2 separate regions of the Homo sapiens genome follow, and region 2 is linked to region 1. Evidence: promoter capture Hi-C in 16 types of primary human blood cells and fetal thymus (Javierre and others, 2016). All regions are on one chromosome and are shown on one strand. Each heading gives the region's core, a stretch centred on a gene start or on the middle of the fragment in contact. The rest is flanking DNA. Distances are from core to core; before and after follow the strand shown.

The links. Contacts are between HindIII fragments. The CHiCAGO score rates a contact against its expected background, and 5 or more counts as called.
Region 2: a contact is called between a fragment that was not itself captured here and the fragment with the promoter of LCP2 in region 1, in 1 of 17 cell types (activated CD4 T cells). The highest score is 5.5, in activated CD4 T cells.

Annotation. Positions count from the first base shown.
Region 1 is chr5:170,294,481-170,300,263 of GRCh38, forward strand. LCP2 (lymphocyte cytosolic protein 2) reads right to left here and starts at 3,297. Exons shown (of 21, transcript NM_005565.5): 1 at 3,054-3,297. The coding sequence starts at 3,131. RefSeq lists an enhancer at 2,400-2,479. The HindIII fragment of the contact is 7,744 bases long and covers 2,126-5,783 here.
Region 2 is chr5:173,070,129-173,075,623 of GRCh38, forward strand. All of the region lies in intron 1 of CREBRF (CREB3 regulatory factor), which reads left to right. Among named protein-coding and RNA genes, the nearest start is that of CREBRF, 17 kb to the left of the region's middle. The HindIII fragment of the contact is 5,988 bases long and covers 1-5,495 here.

The DNA.
Region 1 (5,783 bases), core at 2,047-4,546:
TGGGGTGGAGCATTTGAGGTTAAATGTTTCTCCTTGAGGATCCTAGGTTCTTCTCACAAGGGTGGGCCTCATGGTTTGTGGCAGCCTTCTTTTGGAGCACATTTTAAGCCATATTTTTATCTTATAGCTAGCAAATCCAAAGAATAAATACAATTGTTATGAAATCTTAGCTTGGAAGGGTGGGATGATTATCACACTCAGAAAGCTGACTTAGAAGTTGATATTGAAAGCACATCCCATCTATGGAGCCCTGGTATCCCCTTTATCTACAGGCAGTGGGGGGTAAGTGGTTCTTGGAAGAGTCAACTGCCTTTAATTCATCATTCTCACTGTTATCATTATGAGATAAACCAGATGATTTTGAAGAGTGCTAACTTTGTGTCTAGATCAGCAGAGAGTCCTGCAGACTGGGACCCAGGCATTTGATTCTGCTCCAGCAAGATCTAGGCTTGTGGACCTCAAATCTGTATTTTTAAGGAGCACCCTAGACGATTCCTATGGCATCCAGCATTGGTAGGCACTGGTCCAGAAAAGTTACCTGGATTTGTAGTAAGGAAGACTGAGGCCTCTAGAGGGAAAGAGGCTGGTCTAAGGTCACACAGTGAGCTGGGATACCAGCTGGGACCCCACCTGGGATTAGGACACACAGCTCTGAGCCAGTGCCTCTCCACTGCACGACCCAAGGATGTTCTCCTGCAAGTCAAAAGGAATTGGAGAGATTGAACAAATATGTAACATGGTCTCTGTCCTCAGGAGCTTATATTCCAGACACAGGACGAGGTACCCATGTCAGAGACAAGAAGACGCAAAGTCCCACCAGTCTGCATGGGTGTCCCCAGCTAGGAGCCAGTTAATAGAGAAGGTAAAAGGGCAGAAGGAACACGCATTAGGATCCATTTGTCTGCTGAGTGCCTTGCACACATCATTTGCTTTAATCCTCACAACCAACCCATTGGGTTAGTTACTGTTCATATCTCTATTTCACTGATGAGGAAGTTGAGGCACAGAGAGGCAAAGCAACTACAGGAAAGTCGCCAAGCTAGCAGGTGGCAGAGCCAGGGTAAAGTGTGTCCGACCTCAGAGCTGAGTCGAGAGCTGTCTCCAAGGGAGGCCTGACCCCACTACTTGGGTAGAGTTTGCATCTGCAGATCAATTCTTTACATGTCATGTTTGACAGCTAAGATCCATTCCCAAATGACTCTGCGGTCCATTCGTTTGGTAGTTTCTTTCAGGGGGCTGAGGTACTCAGAATCTGAAGGGTTTCTATCCAAGTCTGTGGAGGGACTAGAACTTCCAGGATCACAGATTTGCCTCAGTCTCCTAGTTTCTTCCCTCAGTCCATTTATGGCAGAAGAAGGAACCTGCCTGGGTGCTGTAGATTTGTCCTGGGGTCTGAGATCTCCAGGAAGAAAACTCTCCCTTCCCCCAGCTCAGGCAGTGAGGTCTTCCTGTACCATCCCTGACCCGTGGTCCATCTCCCTGTACTGATGGGAGTTTTAGGGATCAATTCTCTGTTGCTCAATTGGATTGTATAATTCTCCTGGTCACACCTGAATGTTAGGCCTATCTGTGCCTCTCAGCCCGTCCCAAGTCTTTCTCTTCATAATTCTCAATTCCTTTCTTTTTCCCTTATCAAGGTAACATGCCACTTTATTCCCTCTTGGCAAATTTTACCTTGTTGCCCTATCTTATTTGGTCTATATTTGAGCAAGATATTTAGAAACATCCTTCAAAAAACCAGTTGCGCAACAATATTTGCTGAAATCTAAGTTTATTATGACCTTGCAGAAGGAAAATAACAGAAATGAAAGCACAAAATATGGCAAAAAACAGGATCTGTGAACTGTACCCCTACCATACCACACCTAGTTCAACATGTTCTCATTTTCTTCTTCAGGTTGGGGGAGAACAGCTGTGACTATAAATGCCTCGGAAATGCATAGACCCCAGGTTTGGCTATACGTCCTAGGGAACCTCGTCTACCCTCTTGAATCTCAATTTCCCCAGGAAAAACACGAAGCTGAATTAGATGACTTCTACCATCTTAGCTTTACAATCTCATCTTTATGACAGTCTGGAATATCAACAGAATCCGATGCCAGCCTGCAGGGATGAGGGTGTTAGAAGCTTAACCGTCTCGCACAAGTCATCTTACCACATGGTCAGGGTAGAGGGACTATAACTAAGTCATGTGGCTTGAGATCTGCCCAAGCAGATGCGTTGTCCCCTTCTGCCAATGACCAAGCACAGGGATCCTTCAACCTTTCCTCTAAGTCCAGAAGATAAGACAGCAACGCTCTGGTCCCAGCACCGCCACAAGCCTCTTTTCCTCTAGGGGCCTCAGTTTTCATAGCTATAAATTGGGGCTCACATCAGTTTTCTGTCCTGCTTCACAAGACTCTCATAAGGCTCCAAGGAGACTGCCCCAGGCGGGAGCTTGAGGACCCCCCTTAGGGTCGTGAGCAGTGAAAGCCCAAATGCTGTGTCTGGCACTGCTCATCATAGTCCTCTATCCAGCCCTCCCACCCTGCCTATTCTTTCTCCTGCCTCCAGGACACCACGTCTCCCCTTTCTAGTAAGTAGCGTTGATCTCATTAGCAGTTACAACAGTTCTCTGCATCTCAGAGCATGGACTTTAAAACCAGATAGGTGTGGCTTGAGTCTTGCCTCTATCACATGTAGTCCCTAGGGCTTCGGACCATTTCACTTCCCTGAGCTGATTTTGCAGCTGAGTCAAGGGGATAACAATGCTGACCTCACAACATAGTAGGGAGCGCTAAATGGGACAGTGCCTGTGAGACACCGAATTCAAACCCTAGCACATAATAGGCACATACTCATTTGAGGGCTTCTGCTCCCATCCTTCTCTCCGGAACTCATGGTCAGGAAAACTCAGCGGTCTATATGGCGCTCACTCAACCAGTAAAGTTGCCATAGGGTTCCATTGCTATCTTATACACCTCCCACATTCTGCCCCAATTCCATCGTCAAGCCTCAGCTCAGCCCACCAAGGGCACTAGCATCATGACCATTCACACAAGAGCAAGGCTTACCTTCTTGAAATAGTCAGCAAGGCTGTCGGGGTCCCAGCCCAGGACCTCTGAGCGAAAGGGCACATTCCTCAGTGCCATGGCTGCTCTCCCGGGAAGAAGCTCACAAGCTGAGCATGGGCGCTTCACCCATGGGCAGAGAAGCTCAAATCCAGAGCTCGGAGGCGTTCTTGGCTCTTCCAACTCCCAGCTACCCTGTGGAACACCCCTGTTGGAGCCGATGTCTTTTCTGGCGTAGCCAGATCCCAGAAAGCAACGGCTTCCTCTGCGAACAAATATGGTCTCTTCTCAGAAAACGACTCAGCTAGTTTCCTTTACCACTTCCTCTGCTGGGCTCTAAATAAGTAAACAAGGAAGCCCAGCTCTGGAGGCTTGAGATGCAGAGAGAGCCACAGGGTTGGTAATTCCCCACTGGCTCCAGTCACCCCAACCCAGTAGGAGAGGCAATGAAGGGGTCTTAAACTCCAATGTGAGTCTGAGTAATTTTCCTTTAAACTCTGGGCACCCATATGTCTACACTGCATTCTTGCTCAGCTGGGGCTTTGCAGACCAAAATCTATCCTGACGGTTGACCTGAAATACAGACAATTTCCCACATCAGTGAACTGCTGGAGCATGTTTTTTTAATGCTTTCCAACCACTTTCCCCTCCCACCATCAAAGACTGGGATTCTTTCAGCTGCCTCTTTACAGTTGTCATGAGAGGGTCCTCAAGGAGTGAGTGAGTCAGGCACCCAGGGCTGAACAAGGTGCTACACTGTGCAGACAGGGCTCAGTTTCTGATATGACTATTTCTGTGCTATGCAACCTTAGGCAAGGAGTTAAAAGCTGGGAATCTCAGTTTCCAAATCTGTATAATAGGAAAACAGTGATTCTTCATATGCACATAAAACTTAGATGCATTCAACTAGACAAACCTAAAAAGAAAAATTAAAAAGAAAAAAAACTTAACAATTGCTATTGGTAGTGTCATATATTCCATTCACTATTGTTTCCACAATATATTTTATTCACTATTGATTCTGCCATATATTCTAGCCAAAGAGCACATTCCCTGGAGATAGGAGGTGAGAATTTGCTGTTTTCTTAGTTTCAGACATTGTTCATTTCTCATAACTGAACAACTTATTGGCAGAGGGTGAGTCCAGTGTATAAAAGCAACTATATTTGTGCAATAAGGCAACCTCTAAACACAAGTTACTACTTCATCTAATGCCACACACACACACACACACACACACACACACACACGAGTCATCTGTTCCAAGGCTGTTGCCTTTACTAAGTGATGCTATGTTGGTCCTTGAGGTGGTGCCTTCCTGAGGGTTTTCAAGCATAGCTTTGGCCATGCACAGTTTTCTTCTTATACACACTCTGAGGAGCCCCGCCGTCACGGTAATGCACCTGCCTCACAAGCTGGTGGGCAGCTTAAATGAAATACACATTTTGCTCCAGGCCCAGCACTAGCTCATCAATGTGAGCTGGTGTTAGCCTCACCTTAGAAGGTGCTGAGGGCATCAGTGAAGGTAGCCCAGGCCATTTGCTCCTTGCAGGGCCTCACACCTAAGAACTCTTTTCTTTTCTCTCTTTCTTTCTTTCTTTCTTTTTTTTTTTTTTTTTTTATTGAGACGGAGTTTCGCTCTTGTTGCCCGGGCTGGAGTGCAATGGTGCCATCTCGGCTCACTGCAACCTCCGCTGCCTCCCAGGTTCAAGCGATTCTCTTTCCTCAGCCTCCCGAGTAGCTGGGATTACAGGCATGCACCACCACGCCCAGCTAATTTTGTATTTTTAGTAAAGACGGGGTTTATCCCTGTTGGCCAGGCTGGCCTGGAACTCCCAACCTCAGGTGATCTGCCCGCCTAGGCCTTCCAAAGTGTTGGGATTACAGGCGTGAGCCATTGTGCCTGGGCCGCACCTAAGAGCTCTTTGTAGCTGATCATTCTGTATAAAGCACAGCTCTGCTGTACAAAAGCTCCATCACGGGTGAGAGGTCACCTGGTCTTTCAAATCACTAGCATAGCAGTGAACAATAAAAAGCCATTTGAAGAGAAAGAGAGAGAGAAATCACTTTGAAGTAGAGTAAGCACAGAAGATGTCATGGAATTAACTGGGATTTAAGCAGGGCCGTGGAGGATGGAGTAAAAGGGAGGGCATTCCTGACGTGGATCAATCAATCTCTCTCTCGCTATCTCTCAAAACACATGCCACCTATGAAAAGGAACATTCCAGATCATCCTTAAAAGTAGAAGCAATTTTACTTTATTTTATTTTAATTTCTCCTTTTTATTTGCTTTTGTTTTATGTTTAGAGATGGGGCCTCCCTCTATTGCCCAGCCTGGAACGCAGTGGCACAATTATAGCTTACTATAGCCTCGAACTCCTGGGATCAAGTGATCCTCTCACCTCAGCCTCCCAAGTGGCTGGGAGTACAGGCATGCACCACCATGCTCGGCTAATTTTTTTATTTTTACTCTTTTGTGGAGATGGAGTCTTGCTTTGTTTTCCAGGCTGTTCTTGAACTCTTGGTCTCAAGCGACCCTCCCATCTTGGCATTACAAAGCGCTGGGATTATAGGTGTAAGCCACCAAGACTGGCCTAATTTTCTTAATGATGTTCACCCCACTCAGGATAAGAAAAATCTACAAAAAAGCAGTTGTAATGAAGGTATCACTAAATATTAGGCTCCTTTAGAAAGAATTATCCAATTAATGTGGCCAAGATGGAGGATCCATGG
Region 2 (5,495 bases), core at 1,303-3,802, 2.8 Mb after region 1:
GTGGTCTGTCTACCTTGGCCTCCCAAAGTGCTGGGATTATAGGCAGTGAACCACTGTACCTTGCCCCTACAGTAAATTTTGAAGAAGAGTTCAAATCCTTGCTAACAACAGCATCAAAGTTGTTACAGTGTGTGAAGAATGTGTGGTGTCACTGGAATCCTGCTGTGTGCTCCAGTGCATTCTCACTTGCACCACTGCCTGTTTTTATGCCGCTGCCATTAATTGTACTGTTCTCTTTTTAACATTTTATAGATTTCTGCAGAACAGCTTAGAAAACAAAGTGATTCTTTAAAACTAAAATCTTTAACATCCTGCATAAAATATTTTGTTTTACTATGGTGAGTTTATCTTCCTGCTTTGTAGTTTAAAATATTAAAATAAAATAATGACGAGGGAGAGAACAATATAACATGCATCGGTCCAGTGCCTGAATTCAGTTGATTTAAATTAAATTTAATTCTACTTCTTCCTCTGTCCTCTCTTCCCTAGATAATAATTACATCAGGTCTTTAAAATGGACTAAAATTTAAATATCACTCTTCTTGGAAATTAAAAAAAATTCAGGAGTACAATTTTTCATATTTTTACTATATGATACTACAGTGGTTCAAGACTCAATTTAACAAACTAAGATGCTTTGGAGCACATAAACGATGCTCAATAAATATATATTGAATAATTGACTTTTTTGTAATGTCCTCATTGTGAAGAGCACCACACCTTTGATTCCTTATCCAGAAGGACATGTGGTCTTAGGGGATTTTCCCATTCATTTTCAGCCATCTCTTGTGTGGATGACTGCTCGGAAGGGCATTGCATTTGGCACTGTAGTGAAATAGATGTGAGATATGATGGTCATTCTCAAAGATGTCACAGTCTGGTAGTGGAAGCAAGGGAATAGGAGAGAAGATGAAAAATATGAGCTAAGACATGAAGGTCAGTCTCACTACTGGAAGTTCTTAGTGGAGTAAAGTGGGATTGTAACTATCTTGAGGATTAGGGGAAATGGTAAAATCAGTCTAATATTAGACTTAAGAGTAGTGGAAGACAGAGTTGGAAAGATAGTGTCATTGTGTATGAGTATTTTTGTTTGTTTGTTTGAGATGGAGTTTTGCTTTTGTTGCCCAAGCTGGAGTGCAGCGCCATGATCTCGCATCACTGCAACCTCCGCCTCCTGGGTTCAAACGATTCTCCTTCGTCAGCCTTCTGAATAGCTGGGATTACAGGTGTGAGCCACCACGCCCAGCTAATTTTTCTTTTTAGTAGAGATGGGGTTTCATCATGTTGGCCAGGCTGGTCTCACACTCCTGACCTCAGGTGATCCACCCATCTTGGCCTCCCAAAGTGCAGGGATTACAGGCATGAGCCACCGTGCCCGGCCTTGTTTTTGTTTTTTTAAGAGACTAGGTCTCACTTTGTGGGCCAGGCTTCTCTCAAACTCCTAGGCTCAAGTGATCCTCCTGCCTCAGCCTCCCAAAGTGCTGGGATTACAGGTATGAGCCACTTGTGTCTGGCCTAAGGTCTGAGTAGTTTGGACATTATCCAAGAAATGTATGGGAGTTGCTGATGACTTTGGAGCACAGTGTTAATATGACGTGTGGTAGGTTAGAAAGAATAATTTTATCTTATATTAATAATTATTTTAGGCTGGGCATGGTGGCTCATGCCTGTAATTCCAGCACTTTGGGAGGCCAAGGCAGGCGATTGCTTGAGCCCAGGAGTTCGAGACCAGCCTGGGTAACATGTTGAAACCCTCTCTAAAAAAAAAATGCAATAATTAGCCAGGCATGGTGGCATGTGCCTGTATTCCCAGCTACTTGGGAGGCAGAAGTGGGAGGGCTGCTTGAGCCTGGAAGGTGGAAGTTGCAGTGAGCTGAGATCACTCCACATCACTCCAGTGTAGGTGACAGAGCAAGACCCTGTCTCAAAAAATTATTTTAATAATTTTCATTAATTTTTAATAATTATTAAATTTAAAATTTTTCCTTTTTTTTTAAGAGACAGAGTCTCACACTGTTGCCCAGGCTGAAGTGCAGTGGCACAATCATAGCTCACTACAGTCTTGAACTCCTGAGCTCAAGCCATCCTCTTGACTCAGCCTCCTGAGTAGCTAGGACTATAGGCATGTGCCACCATGCCTAATTTTTTTATCCCTTTTTTTTTTTAAGACAGTGTCTTGCTCTGTCGCCCAGGCTGGAGTGCAGTGGCGCAATCTGGGCTCACTGCAAGCTCTGCCTCCCGGGTTCATGCCATTCTCCTGCCTCAGCCTCCTGAGTAGCTGTGACTACAGGCACTGGCCACCACGCCCGGCTAATTTTTTTTGTTTATTAGTAGAGACGAGGTTTCACCGTGTTAGCCAGGATGGTCTCCATCTCCTGACCTCGTGATCTGCCTGCCTTGGCCTCCTAAAGTGCTGGGATTACAGGCGTGAGTCACTGTACCTAGCTGCCTGGCTGATTTTTACTTTTTTTTTTTTTTTTTGTAGAGACAGGGTCTCACAATGTTTCCAAGACCAGTCTCAAACTCCTGGCCTCAATTAATCCTCCTGCCTCGGCTTCCCAAAGTGCTAGGATTATTGGCATAAGAATAATTTTAAAATGGGGCATAAGAACTCAAGAGAGGGAGAGGAGGATAGAGACAGGAAGACTGTAGGGTAAATATTAGAATGGTAAATATAAGATGATGAGGACCAAGTAAGGGTTGAAAAAGAGGGAAGGGCAAAGTCAAACAGATGCATTTGTGCTCAGTACAAGGTAAGTGATCTGTACATCTTTGTTAAAAAGAATTGGTATGATTCAACAAAATGAGTAGGGGAGGAGAATTTAAAGAGTGAAGGCTGAAATCAGCCTTCTATCCCTGAAAGTCAGAGAGTGATAGTATTGACAGAATAGGAATGTTTGGATGGGGAGATGGCATGTTGTATCTGCAGTGATGGAATGTGAACATGGAGATATCCACATCTCAGATGATAGAGCTCACGCATGCACATGTTTAGGTTCAAAATGTAGATTTGCGAGTCTTTTAGAAATGATCTCTGAGGCCCAAAGAGTAGAGATAGTCTTTGTAACAATAGGTTTGCTTGGAGGCATCCATTTACTGAATGACCTTGGACAAATCTCTTACCCTTGCTGTACTTTTTATTTATTGATGTAAAAAGGGTTGGACAGGGACTGGGGGATAGTGGTTATCCTGATACCAAGACTATATTACCTAGATGTTTTATCAAAATACTGGTCCTTGTTACTTCACCAAGTTGTTTTATTAAATGACAGGGTTTAGAAATGTACTTTAATCTGTAAACAGCTACACAGATACATACAAACTGAATATTTTGTCCCCAGTGGTAATCAAAGTTGGCTGGGATTAGAAATGCATTCTCTGGTTCTGTCTAAAATTGTTCCATGCTCTTATTCTTGTGCTCTGAACAACTTAATTGACAGATACCAAGGCTGCAGAAAGCCTCCAATACCTTGCAATTGATAGTTTTCAGAAATAAAAAGTAGTCCTTCCCATTCAACTCAGATTAATCCAGAAACTTGCTTTAATAGTCTTTTTAGGGCCGGGCGCAGTGGCTTACGCCTGTAATCCCAGCACTTTGGGAGGCCGAGGCGGGCGGATCACGAGGTCAGGAGATCGAGACCATCCTGGCTAATATGGTGAAACACCGTCTCTACTAAAGATACAAAAAATTAGCTGGGCGTGGTGGTGGGCGCCTGTAGTCCCAGCTACTCGGGAAGCTGAGGCAGGAGAATTGCTTGAACCTGGGAGGCGGAGGTTGTAGTGAGCCGAGATTGCGCCACTGCGCTCCAGCCTGGTGACAGAGCGAGACTCCGTCTAAAAAATAAAAAATAAAAATAAATAAATAAATAAATAAATAAATAGTTTTCTTTTTGGCCGGTTGCGGTGGCTCATGCCTGCAATCCCATCCCTTTGGGAGGCTGAGGCGGGTAGATCACCGGAGTTCAGGAGTTTGAGACCAACGTGACCAACATGGTGAAAACCCACCTCTACTAAAAATACAAAATTAGCCGGGTGTTGTGGCACATGCCTGTAATCCCACTACTTGGGAGGCTGAGGCAGGAGAATGGCTTGAACCCTGGAGGTGGAGGTTGCAGTGAGCTGAGATCACACCATTGCACTCCAGCCTAGGCAACAAGAGTGAAAGTCTGTCTCAAAAAAAAAAAAAAAAGGCTTCTTCCTTATTGGTTCCCAAAGAGCTTTGACTAAGCTCCCATATGTTGTCCCTGTAACCCAAAGATTAAAGTTGGATAGGAGCCTTTGGAAAGGAATTGAACAAAATTGTAACTGAGAGTTCTTCTGTCTTCCTCTAACATGGCATTCTAAGAAGAGATCACTTTTGAGATTTAGTATATCCTCTTTGCTTTTTAAGATTTTCAGTAAAAGGTGGTTTTATTTTGTTTAATTACATTTTTTGTGGCAGACCTAATTCACCTCCCATATTTTATTTTTTATTTTTTAAAATTTTTATTTATTTTTATTTTTTTATTTTTTGAGACAGAGTCTCACTCTGTTGCCCAGGCTGGAATGCAGTGGCATGATCTCAGCTCACTGCAACCTCCACCTCTGGGGTTCAAGTGATTCTCCTGTCTCAGCTGCCCAAGTAGCTGGGACGGCAAGTGTGCACCACCACGCCTGGCTAATTTTTGTATTTTTAGTAGAGGGGGTTTCGCCATGTTGGCCAGGCTGGTCTCGAACTCCTGACCTCACGTGATCTGCCTGCCTCATCCTCCCAAAGTGTTGGGATTACAGGCATGAGCCACCGTGCCTGGCCACCTCCCATATTTTAAAAACTCTCCGAATGTGAGGATAAAAGACTATTACATTGATCAGGTATACAGAGTTTGCAAGGTGGTATGGCAAAAGGATCACAGATTCTTACAAGGTCATTATAAGTACTGCTTTGGCTAGGAAAATGATCTTTTTTCACCCAATCTGAGGGAAAAGATACACTTTCTTCCTTACTTTCCTCTTTTCCCATTGTCCTTCCTTAAAGACTAGCAGCAGCAGAATTTGGAAAATAAATAATGGGCATGTTTTGCTAATAATCATGACAAACTATAATAATCTGTTTTGAATTTTACTTGCCTGTTTCTAAATTTTGGAGTCTAGAGAACTGCTATCAAAGGGTAAAATATAGTGATTCACCTGCAGTTTTGGTTACAGGTTTCATATTACATAATAAAGGGAGAACTTGAGCCCCACCTTTCCCCCAGTGTATTCCTTGCATAGGCAACCTCTGCTGCTTAAATGTTTTGGAGACTTTGGGATGTCTGATTTCAACTGTACCGTGAAACAGGTAGTGGCTTGACTTAGTAAGCATCTGAAGGACTGTTTTGTTCTACTCTTGCAGAGTAGAGTAGTTTTCAAAAGGAAAGGAAAGGAATTGTTGAGTGGGACCTATGAAGTATAGCAGGATGGATAGAATATGAGGCAGATGGGTCCTAGTTTGCTAAAGAGCTTGGGCCATCTGATAA